Regions from separate parts of the Homo sapiens genome. Here all the other regions are linked to region 1. The links are contacts of gene promoters, found by promoter capture Hi-C in blood cells and fetal thymus (Javierre and others, 2016). All regions are on one chromosome and are shown on one strand. The core of a region is centred on a gene start or on the middle of the fragment in contact, and the rest is flanking DNA. Distances in the headings are between cores, read along the strand shown.

The links. Contacts are between HindIII fragments. The CHiCAGO score rates a contact against its expected background, and 5 or more counts as called.
Region 2: a fragment that was not itself captured here is called in contact with the fragment with the promoter of TKTL2 in region 1 in 1 of 17 cell types (endothelial precursors); the score reaches 6.3 in endothelial precursors.
Region 3: a contact is called between a fragment that was not itself captured here and the fragment with the promoter of TKTL2 in region 1, in 5 of 17 cell types (erythroblasts, megakaryocytes, M0 macrophages and 2 more). The highest score is 11.2, in erythroblasts.
Region 4: a contact is called between a fragment that was not itself captured here and the fragment with the promoter of TKTL2 in region 1, in 1 of 17 cell types (M2 macrophages). The highest score is 5.1, in M2 macrophages.

The regions. Positions count from the first base shown.
Region 1 is chr4:163,472,287-163,475,279 of GRCh38, reverse strand. It overlaps TKTL2 (transketolase like 2), which reads left to right and starts at 1,526. Exons shown (of 1, transcript NM_032136.5): 1 at 1,526-2,993. The coding sequence starts at 1,546. The HindIII fragment of the contact is 3,282 bases long and covers 797-2,993 here.
Region 2 is chr4:162,482,462-162,485,454 of GRCh38, reverse strand. No RefSeq gene overlaps it. Among named protein-coding and RNA genes, the nearest start is that of FSTL5, 320 kb to the right of the region's middle. The HindIII fragment of the contact is 1,243 bases long and covers 817-2,059 here.
Region 3 is chr4:162,500,973-162,503,965 of GRCh38, reverse strand. No RefSeq gene overlaps it. Among named protein-coding and RNA genes, the nearest start is that of FSTL5, 340 kb to the right of the region's middle. The HindIII fragment of the contact is 6,861 bases long and covers 1-2,993 here.
Region 4 is chr4:162,517,272-162,520,264 of GRCh38, reverse strand. No RefSeq gene overlaps it. Among named protein-coding and RNA genes, the nearest start is that of FSTL5, 350 kb to the right of the region's middle. The HindIII fragment of the contact is 3,127 bases long and covers 22-2,993 here.

The DNA.
Region 1 (2,993 bases), core at 277-2,776:
TCTGGGATGGAACCAGGCATTGTGTTTCTTATGTGCCCTAATTTTAACGTGAAGTTAAGGTAAGAATTATTGCTCAAGAAACCAAGAGGTTTAACATCGCAATATGGGAAGGTATGATATATTATCATTGTGTTTTTTTTAATTGTTGTTTTATTGATGACAAACCATAACCTTGGCCTGCTAGAAGAGTTCAATGGCACAAATTTAGTTTTTTTTGTTTTAGACGGAGTCTCGCTCTGTCTCCCAGGCTGGAGTGCAGTGGCACAATCTGGGCTCACTGCAAGCTCCACCTCCCAGGTTCACGCCATTCTCCTGCCTCAGCCTCCCGAGTAGCTGGGACTACAGGTGCCCATCACCACGCCCAGCTAATTTTTTTGTATTTTTAGTAGACACGGGGTTTCACCGTGTTAGCCAGGATGGTCTCGAACTCCTGACCTTGTGATCCGCCTGCCTCGGCCTCCCAAAGTGCTGGGATTACAGGTGTGAGCCACAGCACCCGGCCCACAAATTTAGTTTTTTAAAGTAAGTAACTTTGTCTTAAAAATGATTTGTAGTAATAGTCATTAAAAGATAAACTGAGGCACATTAAAATATTAAAGCATTTATTTGACCATTCAGTGATTCATGAATCTGGTAGCTCCTGATAAAGGAGCCAAGGAGAAGGCTTTTATAGGGTGAATTTGGAAGCAAAGGAAAGATATTTGATTGGTTAAAGTGGAGTACTAGACTTATTTGGGTCATCCCAGTGGAAAGTCCCCAGTTAGAAGTTAGCTGGCAGTTTCTGATTGATTAAGCTTAAATTTCCTTTTTATCATTTACACTGATTTGGGTTTCCTTTCCTTAGGTAGGAACTCATGGAGCTGAAGCTACCTCAGCCTACTGGCCTTCTAATTATTTCAACACAGAAATAGTACTTTACGGCACACTGGAGTTGCAATTCTATTCTGCAATTGGGTGGTTTCAGATTTGTTCTTCCTATAAATTTTGGTCAAATTAGTCATTGCATTTCTTTCTATAAGTCTGAGATTCAGATATTTGGTTGCTCTGAGAAAGTCTCTGTTGAGATAGCATTGCCATACTGGTCAGATTGAAAGTGACTTTGTATCCTTTCTATTAATGTTCTGATATGAAAGAGTGATGACTCGGATATAGTGTTAATGCATTAAAAAAGCACAGCCTGACAAATCGCTTCCTATAATACACAGAAAAATGTCTAGTCTTGAATTTATAACACAGGGAAAGGTAAAAAATTTAATTATGCTTCCTAATGTTGAACATGCACGTGACAAAGTAAATACTAAAAATCCATTCAGCTGGGCGTGGACAGGGAGAGGGAACGGTGCACATCAGAGGGTGCAGGCTACTCCAACGTTTCCGTTTCCTCAGTCTCGCGGGAAGCTCCGTTGTGGGCGCCCCGGCTGGTGGCTGAGCTCAGGCCTTCAGGCAGAGGGGAGGCGAGGGCGGGGCGGTCACGTGAGAGCACTGCCGCGGTGGGTTGTGGGGGTGCTGCGGCGCCGTTTGCTTTGCCAAACCGACAAAAGAGAGATGATGGCCAACGACGCCAAGCCCGACGTGAAGACCGTGCAGGTGCTGCGGGACACAGCCAACCGCCTGCGGATCCATTCCATCAGGGCCACGTGTGCCTCTGGTTCTGGCCAGCTCACGTCGTGCTGCAGTGCAGCGGAGGTCGTGTCTGTCCTCTTCTTCCACACGATGAAGTATAAACAGACAGACCCAGAACACCCGGACAACGACCGGTTCATCCTCTCCAGGGGACATGCTGCTCCTATCCTCTATGCTGCTTGGGTGGAGGTGGGTGACATCAGTGAATCTGACTTGCTGAACCTGAGGAAACTTCACAGCGACTTGGAGAGACACCCTACCCCCCGATTGCCGTTTGTTGACGTGGCAACAGGGTCCCTAGGTCAGGGATTAGGTACTGCATGTGGAATGGCTTATACTGGCAAGTACCTTGACAAGGCCAGCTACCGGGTGTTCTGCCTTATGGGAGATGGCGAATCCTCAGAAGGCTCTGTGTGGGAGGCTTTTGCTTTTGCCTCCCACTACAACTTGGACAATCTCGTGGCGGTCTTCGACGTGAACCGCTTGGGACAAAGTGGCCCTGCACCCCTTGAGCATGGCGCAGACATCTACCAGAATTGCTGTGAAGCCTTTGGATGGAATACTTACTTAGTGGATGGCCATGATGTGGAGGCCTTGTGCCAAGCATTTTGGCAAGCAAGTCAAGTGAAGAACAAGCCTACTGCTATAGTTGCCAAGACCTTCAAAGGTCGGGGTATTCCAAATATTGAGGATGCAGAAAATTGGCATGGAAAGCCAGTGCCAAAAGAAAGAGCAGATGCAATTGTCAAATTAATTGAGAGTCAGATACAGACCAATGAGAATCTCATACCAAAATCGCCTGTGGAAGACTCACCTCAAATAAGCATCACAGATATAAAAATGACCTCCCCACCTGCTTACAAAGTTGGTGACAAGATAGCTACTCAGAAAACATATGGTTTGGCTCTGGCTAAACTGGGCCGTGCAAATGAAAGAGTTATTGTTCTGAGTGGTGACACGATGAACTCCACCTTTTCTGAGATATTCAGGAAAGAACACCCTGAGCGTTTCATAGAGTGTATTATTGCTGAACAAAACATGGTAAGTGTGGCACTAGGCTGTGCTACACGTGGTCGAACCATTGCTTTTGCTGGTGCTTTTGCTGCCTTTTTTACTAGAGCATTCGATCAGCTCCGAATGGGAGCCATTTCTCAAGCCAATATCAACCTTATTGGTTCCCACTGTGGGGTATCCACTGGAGAAGATGGAGTCTCCCAGATGGCCCTGGAGGATCTAGCCATGTTCCGAAGCATTCCCAATTGTACTGTTTTCTATCCAAGTGATGCCATCTCGACAGAGCATGCTATTTATCTAGCCGCCAATACCAAGGGAATGTGCTTCATTCGAACCAGCCAACCAGAAACTGCAGT
Region 2 (2,993 bases), core at 189-2,688, 990 kb after region 1:
TTAAGCCTCTTAAGTAGTTATAAACAGTGGATTAGTCTTGGGTTTTTTTTTTTTTTCCTCTGAAAGAGAGTCTGTGCCATTGCTGATAATTCATGTGAACAGGAAATATGAAAATAATCTATATTTAAGCTAACAGAAAAAGAAAACCTGGCTAGATAAGACAGCACATCTTGGGGACTTACTTTCTCTGTTAGGCAAGGAAAGTCTTAGGTCATTGTTCCAAAATGTCTTGTCTTCTCTCCTTATAATGCTTGTAGTTAGGCTTGTTTTCCTTAGAATTATTTCATACTTGTCCAAAGTCGTAAATGTTTTCTAGATAGACATTGTCTTAACAAATGACCCAAAAACTGATTCAAAGGCAAAACCATGATGCAATCACACTGATTCATACTCAACTTGAAAATTAGATATCAGTAAATGAAATGTCGTTTCAAGAATATGGGCAGTCCCCGATAGTCTCTCCTGCAGCTTTGGCTACATGAAAACCAAAGGGGATACTGGGAATAATAATAATTATTATTAATAATAAAACAGGCTCTTAAAAAAGGCTATGGCACATTTATCAAGTAATCACTTGAATTGAATTTTAACCCATCCAATTGATTGATGATGACTTTTTTTTCTTTTTTTGCAGGAAAACCAATCATTAACAGCTTTCATTTCAGAAAGCCAAGCAATTTATATGGACTCACTCCCATAAACACAATTCTGAGTGTCAACCAATTGAGAACAATTTTGTTGGAGTAATCACATTTTGGCAGCGAATGTCAACCTACTTAAACTTCTGAAAGGTCACCAATCCCTGACTTTTAAGCTTCCAAAAATTCTGGTATAAATCCAGCAGCTTGCTCTTTTTAGAGAGGCTATACCTGACCAGCATATCTCTATTCACTATAGTAAGCAATAAGCACAACATGTTTTTTCTTTCAAATATTGAGTGGTGATTTCTTCATAATTTGACAGTATCATTTATCCCATGGAAGAACAAGTAGTTATATATCTTATTCTGGAATTCCTTTTGAGCATTAGAGCAATCTTCCCCAAAAACTGCGAACTTAAAAAAAATAATAATATTCTCTATTCAACAGTAGGTGGAAAATCAAACTCAGAAACATTTTAGCAGAATTTATTTTGCTGGGTTTTTTTCCTCCTAAACTTAGCATTGTTATCTGGATACAATCAAGATACTTTATTTCACAGCCAACGTCATGTAACAACTTTTTGTAACATTACTCAGCTCGTAGCTTTTCTCTTTCGGAAAAAGTGTTTGGAAAGCAGAATTAAAAACGAACTTGAGGGCCAGGCGCAGTGGCTCACGCCTGTAATCCCAACATTTTGGGAGTCTGAGGCGGGTGGATCACGAGGTCAGGAGACCGAGACCATCCTGGCTAATACAGTGAGACCCCGTCTCTACTAAAAATACAAAAAATTAGCCATGCATGGTGGCACGTGCCAAGTCCCAGCTACCGGGGAGGCTGAGGCAGGAGAATCGCTTGAACCTGGGAGGCAGAGGTTGCAGTGAGCCGAGATTGTGCCACTGCACTCCAGCCTGAGCAACAGAGTGAGACTCCATCTCAAAAAATAAAAAAATAAAATAAAAATTAAAAGTCAACATTTAAAAGACTTGGATTTTTCTTAGTTTTTTTTTTTTTTTTTTTTTTTTTGGCTTAATATAAGTCTTCCTCTCTCTCTCTCTTTTTCTTTCTTTTTTTTTGAGAGGCAGCCTTGGTCTGTCGCCCAGGCTGGAGTGCAGTGGCACCATCTCGGCTCACTGCAACCTCTGCCTTCTGGGTTTCAGAGATTCTAGGGCCTCAACCTCCCAAGTAGCTGGGATTACAAGTGTGCGCCACCATGCCCAACTAATTTTTGTATTTTTAGTAGAGATGGGTTTCACCATGTTGGCCAGCCTGGTCTCAAACTCCCAACTTCAAGAGATCTGCCGGCCTTGGCCTCCGAAAGTGCTAGGATTACAAGCGTAAGCCACCAGGCCCAGCCTACATTTTCTTTTATCTGTGTGTAAATATGTTGATGGTATAGTGTGCATAAGGGAAAATAAGCTTATTAAAAACTCAAGCTTCAGGGATAACTGGCTAGGCCTTACTTTTAAAGAAATAGTTGCACCTTTAACATTTTCTGCTATGATAGAAAAATATTATCCAATTAAAATGTAAGCAACCTAAACATCATTGATTACTCTAAAAGAATTATAGAATAGTAATATCTTGCCAATATCGATATTTGTGGTGCTACTCTGTTCTCATTGCATTAGCTATTAGACAATGTCTTATAGAGTTCATGGCCATTTTCTGCTTATGAATGAGAATAAATACTTGTGAAAACATAACGTGTAAGACATCAGGTATACATATATTAAAATATGTCAGTTGGCGAAAAGTAATAATTGTCTTACCAAGGAAAATTGCCTTTAGATTTGACTGTGTTCAGCTCTGGTACAAAACATAACAAACATTATGTTTCTACCTTAATTAAAAAGTAAATGTGGTTATTTTAAAAACTGTTTAAAATTAAAGCCTATTTTATAAGATGTTATATGAGACACTGCATTATTCCTTATCAAATTTATAAGGCTGTATATTCAAAATCTTGTTTTTTTTTACAAAAAAATATATCTATATAAACATATTCAGATTTATTCAGTAAAACTATCCTGCTGTGTTTTTGGTATACATTAGGAGTTTAAGTTATACATAAGTGAGACCTCTTTGAGAGTGAGTGAGTTGTAAGCTGGGTTTTAAAGCCATTTTCAGGGATAAGGAAAAGAGACAGTTTGCCAAATATAGCAATGGCAATGCAGGTTGCTCAGTTAAATTTGAATTTCAGGCAAAAAAAGTAAATGTTAAGAATCAGTTTATCCAAAATATTTTATTGGTTTTTATTATTTATTTTTATATATTTATTTATTTATTTTTGAGACAGAATCTCGCTCTGTTGCCTGGAGTGCAGTGGCGCAATCTGGAGTGCAGTGGTGCGAT
Region 3 (2,993 bases), core at 171-2,670, 970 kb after region 1:
GTCTCCCTCTGTCACCCAGCAGGCTGGAGTACAGTGGTGCTATCTGGGCTCACTGCAAGCTCCGCCCCTCCAGGTTTAAGCAATTCTCCGTCTCAGCCTCCGGACTCGCTGGGATTACAGGTGCGTGCCACCACGCCCGGCTAATTTTTTTTTTTTTGTATTTTTAGTAGAGACGTGGTTTCACCATCTTGGCCAAGCTGGTCTTGAACTCCTGACCTCGTGATCCACCCGTCTCGGCCTCCCAAAGTGCTGGGATTACAGGTGTGAGCCACCGCGCCCGGCCTCTGCTTCTCTTTATAACAAAATTTTCTTAATGAGTTGTCAGTGCAAACTGCATCCTTTTTGTACCTTTTAATCTTTTTCTTGAAGGTTCTTCAGTCTTCCCCCTCCACCCCGTTGCTCCAGTAAAATAGCTCTTGTTAAGGTAACCAATGTTGACAAATTCAATGGTAATTTCTCTGAGCATAAATGTTTTATCAGCTGTATTAGATGTAGTTGGTCACTACCTTTTATTGAAGCCCTCTTTTCACTTGATTTTAGAGGTTTTTCTCTTTTTTAATTCTGGATCTGCATATTTGGAAACTCATTCTCAGCTTCTCTGATGATTTCTGCTCCTCTTCTAGTCGTTTAAACTTTTACACATTTCAGACCTCAATCCATGACATAGGTGTTTTCTAACTTATCTTATTACTTAAGTTTTCTCATTCAATCTCTGTATACATACATATATATGCTTATATATATATACAGTATAGTACTACTATATATAGTATAGTACTCTTTCTGTGTATGTAATATAGCACATATATATATTAAACTATGGGATATAATTTATAAGTATAGACTATACTATATATACATATATATAGAATATGTATACTTTTTCAAAATATATATATGTATACACACATGCCAATCAATACAAATGTCTGTCTCTAAACCAGATTTCTTTCATAAACTCCAGGCTTCTTGACATTTCCAGTTGAATATTTGGTATCTCAATATTGGATTTCTGAAATTATACTTCCTAAGCCTCCCATTCTGGTTTTCTTTTCCATTATAATAAGCACCACCTCATTTATCCAAGTCAAAATCTTTGAATTTTCTTTGTCTTAAAACAATCAATCCATCAGCAAATCCTGTAACTGCTATCTTCAACATTATGTACGGAAAACTAATAAGCAAGTTATTGCAAGGTTAAACGATGCACAATTACTATGCAAAAGTCTATTGCTTTTCTGTATACCAGCAATAAGCAAGTGAAATTTAAAATTTAAATAATATAAGATTGGCAATATCACTAAAATATGAAATACTTCACCACAAATCTAAGAAAATACATAATGTTGGTAAGTGGAAAACTAAAGAAATGTAATGAAAGAAAAAAAGAAGCTCTAAATAAATGAAAAGATATTTTGTGGTCACAAATTGGAAGACTCAATATTGTTAAGATGTCAATTTGTCCCAATTGATCTATAGATTCAAGAAAATTCTAATCAAAATCCAAGGAAGGTATTTGGTAGATATTGACAAACTGATCCTAAATTTTTCATGGAAAGTCAAAAGCCTTAGAATAACCAACACAATCAAGAAGAAGAGCACAGTTGGAACATTTTTAATGCCTCTTTTTATAGAGAGACAGTAAACAAGGCAATGTGTTATTGACATAGAATAGACAGAGAGATCTGTGGAACAAACTAGATGGACCAGAAAGAGATTCACACACTGATAGTCATATGATTTCTGATGAAGGATTAGAGTTGAAGACATCAAAATGACCTCATATTTAGTTTAATATAGATACAATGGCCATATGTAGAAATATTTACTATATATATGTAGTCATAGGATAGTATATATCTGTATTTCCTGCTCTATTAATTGAGCATCTCTGGAAACAATGACACCCCAGTAGCAACGAGCACACCTAGTGTCCAGATCTTGGTTTTTCATACCATTCTCCAGTAATTTTACTCCTTCACTGGAACACCTTGTAGCATCAAAAGATAGGTGCCCAAAGCACACAAACACACATGCACATACACACACACATACACACACACACACACACACACACACACACAATGATGAGAGTATGTCAAAGTGACACAGGATGCAATTAAAAGAGCCTCTAATGGCCAAAGCTGGGACAATTTGAGCAAAAATATAAAAATAAAGTAGTACTGGATTATACATCTAAATATAAAATAAATATTCATGAGCCAATACTTACATAAATAAATGATTGAATAAATAAATAAATGAAGAGAATAGGTGATTCTCCCATGCAGAAGAATTTCAAATAAGTAGATACTCTGCCCTCAAGGAAGAGGAACATAACTCTCCACTCCTTAAATGTTCAGTCATAGTGTTTAAGTTTTCTACCCGCCTCCCACATCATGGTGTAAAATACACATCATTTATAAATGCAATACCTTGGGTAGACAATCTAAGCATTATTCTTTCAAATATAGCCAATAACTCTTCTTTGTTCCAAGGCCTGTGGATATGATGTGGCATTATGATGACAATTATGTTCGTGTTGTCGTTATTTAAGAATCACTCCTAGCAGATGATTGTCTAACCACATGGTCAAAATATAAAATCATACATATGCAAGAGATTGCAATCCACTCTCCCTTCCCTCATGCCTGGGCAAATATATAAATTAGATTTCCAATTTGAGAATTGCCTCTTATCCACAGTTCTTTTTACCGGATCGACAATGCTTTCCTCTTCTACTGGGGAGTGCAAGTGCTTATTTTCATGTGAAGAACCAACTATTTCTCACTTTCAGGCAGTGTGATTTAGATCGCTTTGGTTTCACCTCCTAATTCTAAACCTAGTTATGTGATCCAGTGGAGATACTTAGGATTGCAGGAGTTGGTTCACAGAGAGGCGATGATTCAAGCCAAACCCAGGAAAACCAGGCTGGGAAACTAAAAATATATTTACATTCATGGAGACAAAACAAAATGTAACACTGGGGAAAG
Region 4 (2,993 bases), core at 336-2,835, 960 kb after region 1:
ACGATATGGTTGGTGAAAGCTTCACATGAATTCGGTGATATTTGAAGATAGGCTAACATTACATGGAGAAGTAAGCTATGAAGACAGATGTCCAAACAGAGAAAGGAGAGTAAAAACACCATCAAATGTGATTGTGTGTCCAAAAGCTGAAAGACAGTGCTGTGATTGGAGGAGTAGAGATATGAGAGAGAAAGGCAGAGGGTTAAGTGGGGACCAGATTAAGTACGGGAGTATTGGCCATGGCAACATAATAAAGCTAATAAAGGGAAAATTTCCTGTAAAAGATTTTAGACAACTACATTTTTGTTGTTGCCTATTTTCAAATTTCTGCTAAAAAATGACAGTGGTCCATCCCCTTGTCCTAACCAATAGCATTAAGGTCTAAAATTTATGTCATATGTATCATATATAGGTGTAGTTGTGTACTTTTTTTTTTTTTTTTTTTTTCTGAGACGGAGCCTCACTCTGTCGCCCAGGCTGGAGTGCAGTGGCACCATCTTCGCTCACTGCAAGCTCCGCCTCCAGGGTTCACGCCATTCTCCTCCCTCAGCCTCCGGAGTAGCTGGGACTACAGGCACCTGCCACCATGCCCAGCTAATTTTTTGTATGTTTACTAGAGATGGGGTTTCACCATGTTAGCCAGGATGGTCTCGATCTCCTGACCTCGTGATCTGCCCGCCTCGGCCTCCCAAAGTGCTAGGATTACAGGCGTGAGCCACCACACCTGGCCAGTGTGTACTATTTTTTTTTAAGTGTAAAAGATAAGATTGTTTTAAAAGGTTGTGGACACTGTCATAAAACACCTACTAGAATATCTATGTATGAAGATTTTTAAGTACTTATAGTCGGCAAATTTAATCCACTTCCACTACAGAGCAGGTAATTTAAGTTTAACTCATCTATAATTAATAATCTATTAAACCATGTTTTAATCTTAGTTAATGTCCCCTGGAATAATGGGAAAATGCAGCCTATAATAGCTCCTTTTTATGTTTATTTTGCTAAATTTCAACTTAGCACAGCATTATTTCACTGCCAGATGTTTTTTATAATAATGGCTTAATTTGAAAGAAGAAATACTCCCAGTCAGTATTCTTACTTCCCTGCCTTTTTTTTTTTTTTTTTTTTTGAGAGTGAGTCTCGTTCTGTTATCCAGGCTTGAGCGCAGTGGCATGATCTTGACTCACTGAGACCTCCACCTTTCAGGTTCATGCAATTCTCCTGCCTGAGCCTCCCGAGTAGCTGGGACTGCAGACGCTGGCCACCATGCCCAGTTAATTTTTGTATTTTTAGTAGAGACGGGGTTTCACATTGGTCAAGCTAGTCTCGAACTCCTGACCTTAGGTGATCCACCCGCCTCGGCCTCCAAAAGTGCTGGGATTACAGGCAGCCCTCAGAAGTGGCTGGACTATTTTGTGTCTCAGTAATAGATTCCTACCAGGTATGCCTCTCTCATCCAGATTAATTAATTAAAGCAACTTGTAGCATGGTTACAGCAATGCTGCCCTTGCTGTCCGTGGCACTGGTGAGTCAGGTCTTGCTCTTCCTCATACCCTTCAGCTCTGCTCTCCCTTATTTGAGCTGAGTCCCTTCATGTAATGAGTCCTCCATGTAATGAAGAATAATCTTTTATAATAATCATGTTTTTATATATAATAATAATCTACAGTACAAGGTATTAAACAACACAGAAATAATCATATAGTATTAGAAATAAATAAGACTTCAGAGAACTTTAAGTCCAATACTATCTTTTACAGATGAGGAAACTGAGGCCCAGGGCAATTGAATGAGATCCTTGTAGTTTGGGGCTACTCTATAGCAAATCTTGTGTAAAATTTTGGAATTCTAATACATGTCTCTTATTTTTCCCACCACGTTATACAACATCCCTACAACCTCCACAGTTAAAAATATTGATCAGAACATAAAACCCATCCTGAAGTCTATTTTACATGGAAACCCTTTGCTTAAATGTTTGTAGCACAGTTTACAATTCTAGAGCACAATTCTCAGGCGGAGGATCACTGGAATTCAGGAAGAGGGTAGAGCTTTGTGAGTTTTTTAGATTTACATCCACTGGGGTTTGTATTCGACTACCTGATAGAATACCCAAATAATAGTGGCTTCATCACTTGTGGGGCTGTTTTTCTCACAAAGCGAGGGAGTCTAGAGGTATGAAGTCTGGTGCCAGTGCCATCAGTGAGGAATTCAGACTCTATCTTTCTGCTCACTCTTAGCATGTGGCTTGAATCTCATGCTTATCATTAATGTCTACATGTTGGTTGTTCCAATTCCAGTCTTGAATCAGTACTCTGAGCAAGATGTTGTCGAAAATGAAAGGCAAAGTCGATCCTGTCCTGTTCTAAAGAGATTTCATGAGAATTTGAGAATTCCATTTGGCTAGTACATCCCATGCACATTCCCATCAGCAAGGCTAGCTGGGAGATCATGGATTATTTTGCTGAGAGGTATGATAATATATCCAGTGATATTCTGCAGTTAAGTACAATAATTTATGTTTTTATATCCCATAGGATGTCTTTAGGAGGCTTACACTTTAAATGAAAGACTAATAAAAAATAGGACACATAGGGTGTTATATGGTAAGAATTGTCATATAGAAAATTAAAGCAGGAAAAAAAAAGATGAGAGTTGAGAAATAAAATTTACTTTTAATTAGAATACTCATGAAAACCTCATTGAGAGTAACTATTTGTGTCAAAGTCTAAGGTGAGTGAGGCAGTAATCCAGGTGTATATTTGGGACAGGGAATTCCAGGCAGAGGGACAGCAAATGCTGTGGTGACAGTATTCCAGGGAGGTTTAGAGAGCTAAAGAATGAATAGAAAATTTAAATTAAATTAAATATTTTCACTAAAGCAAACATAGCTTACTCAACTATGTTTTAATAGCTTTATTTCTACTCACCCATATAATCACACACACCACAGGCATGAAGCCAGGTGTGTACCTTGTGCATACCTTGGAAGA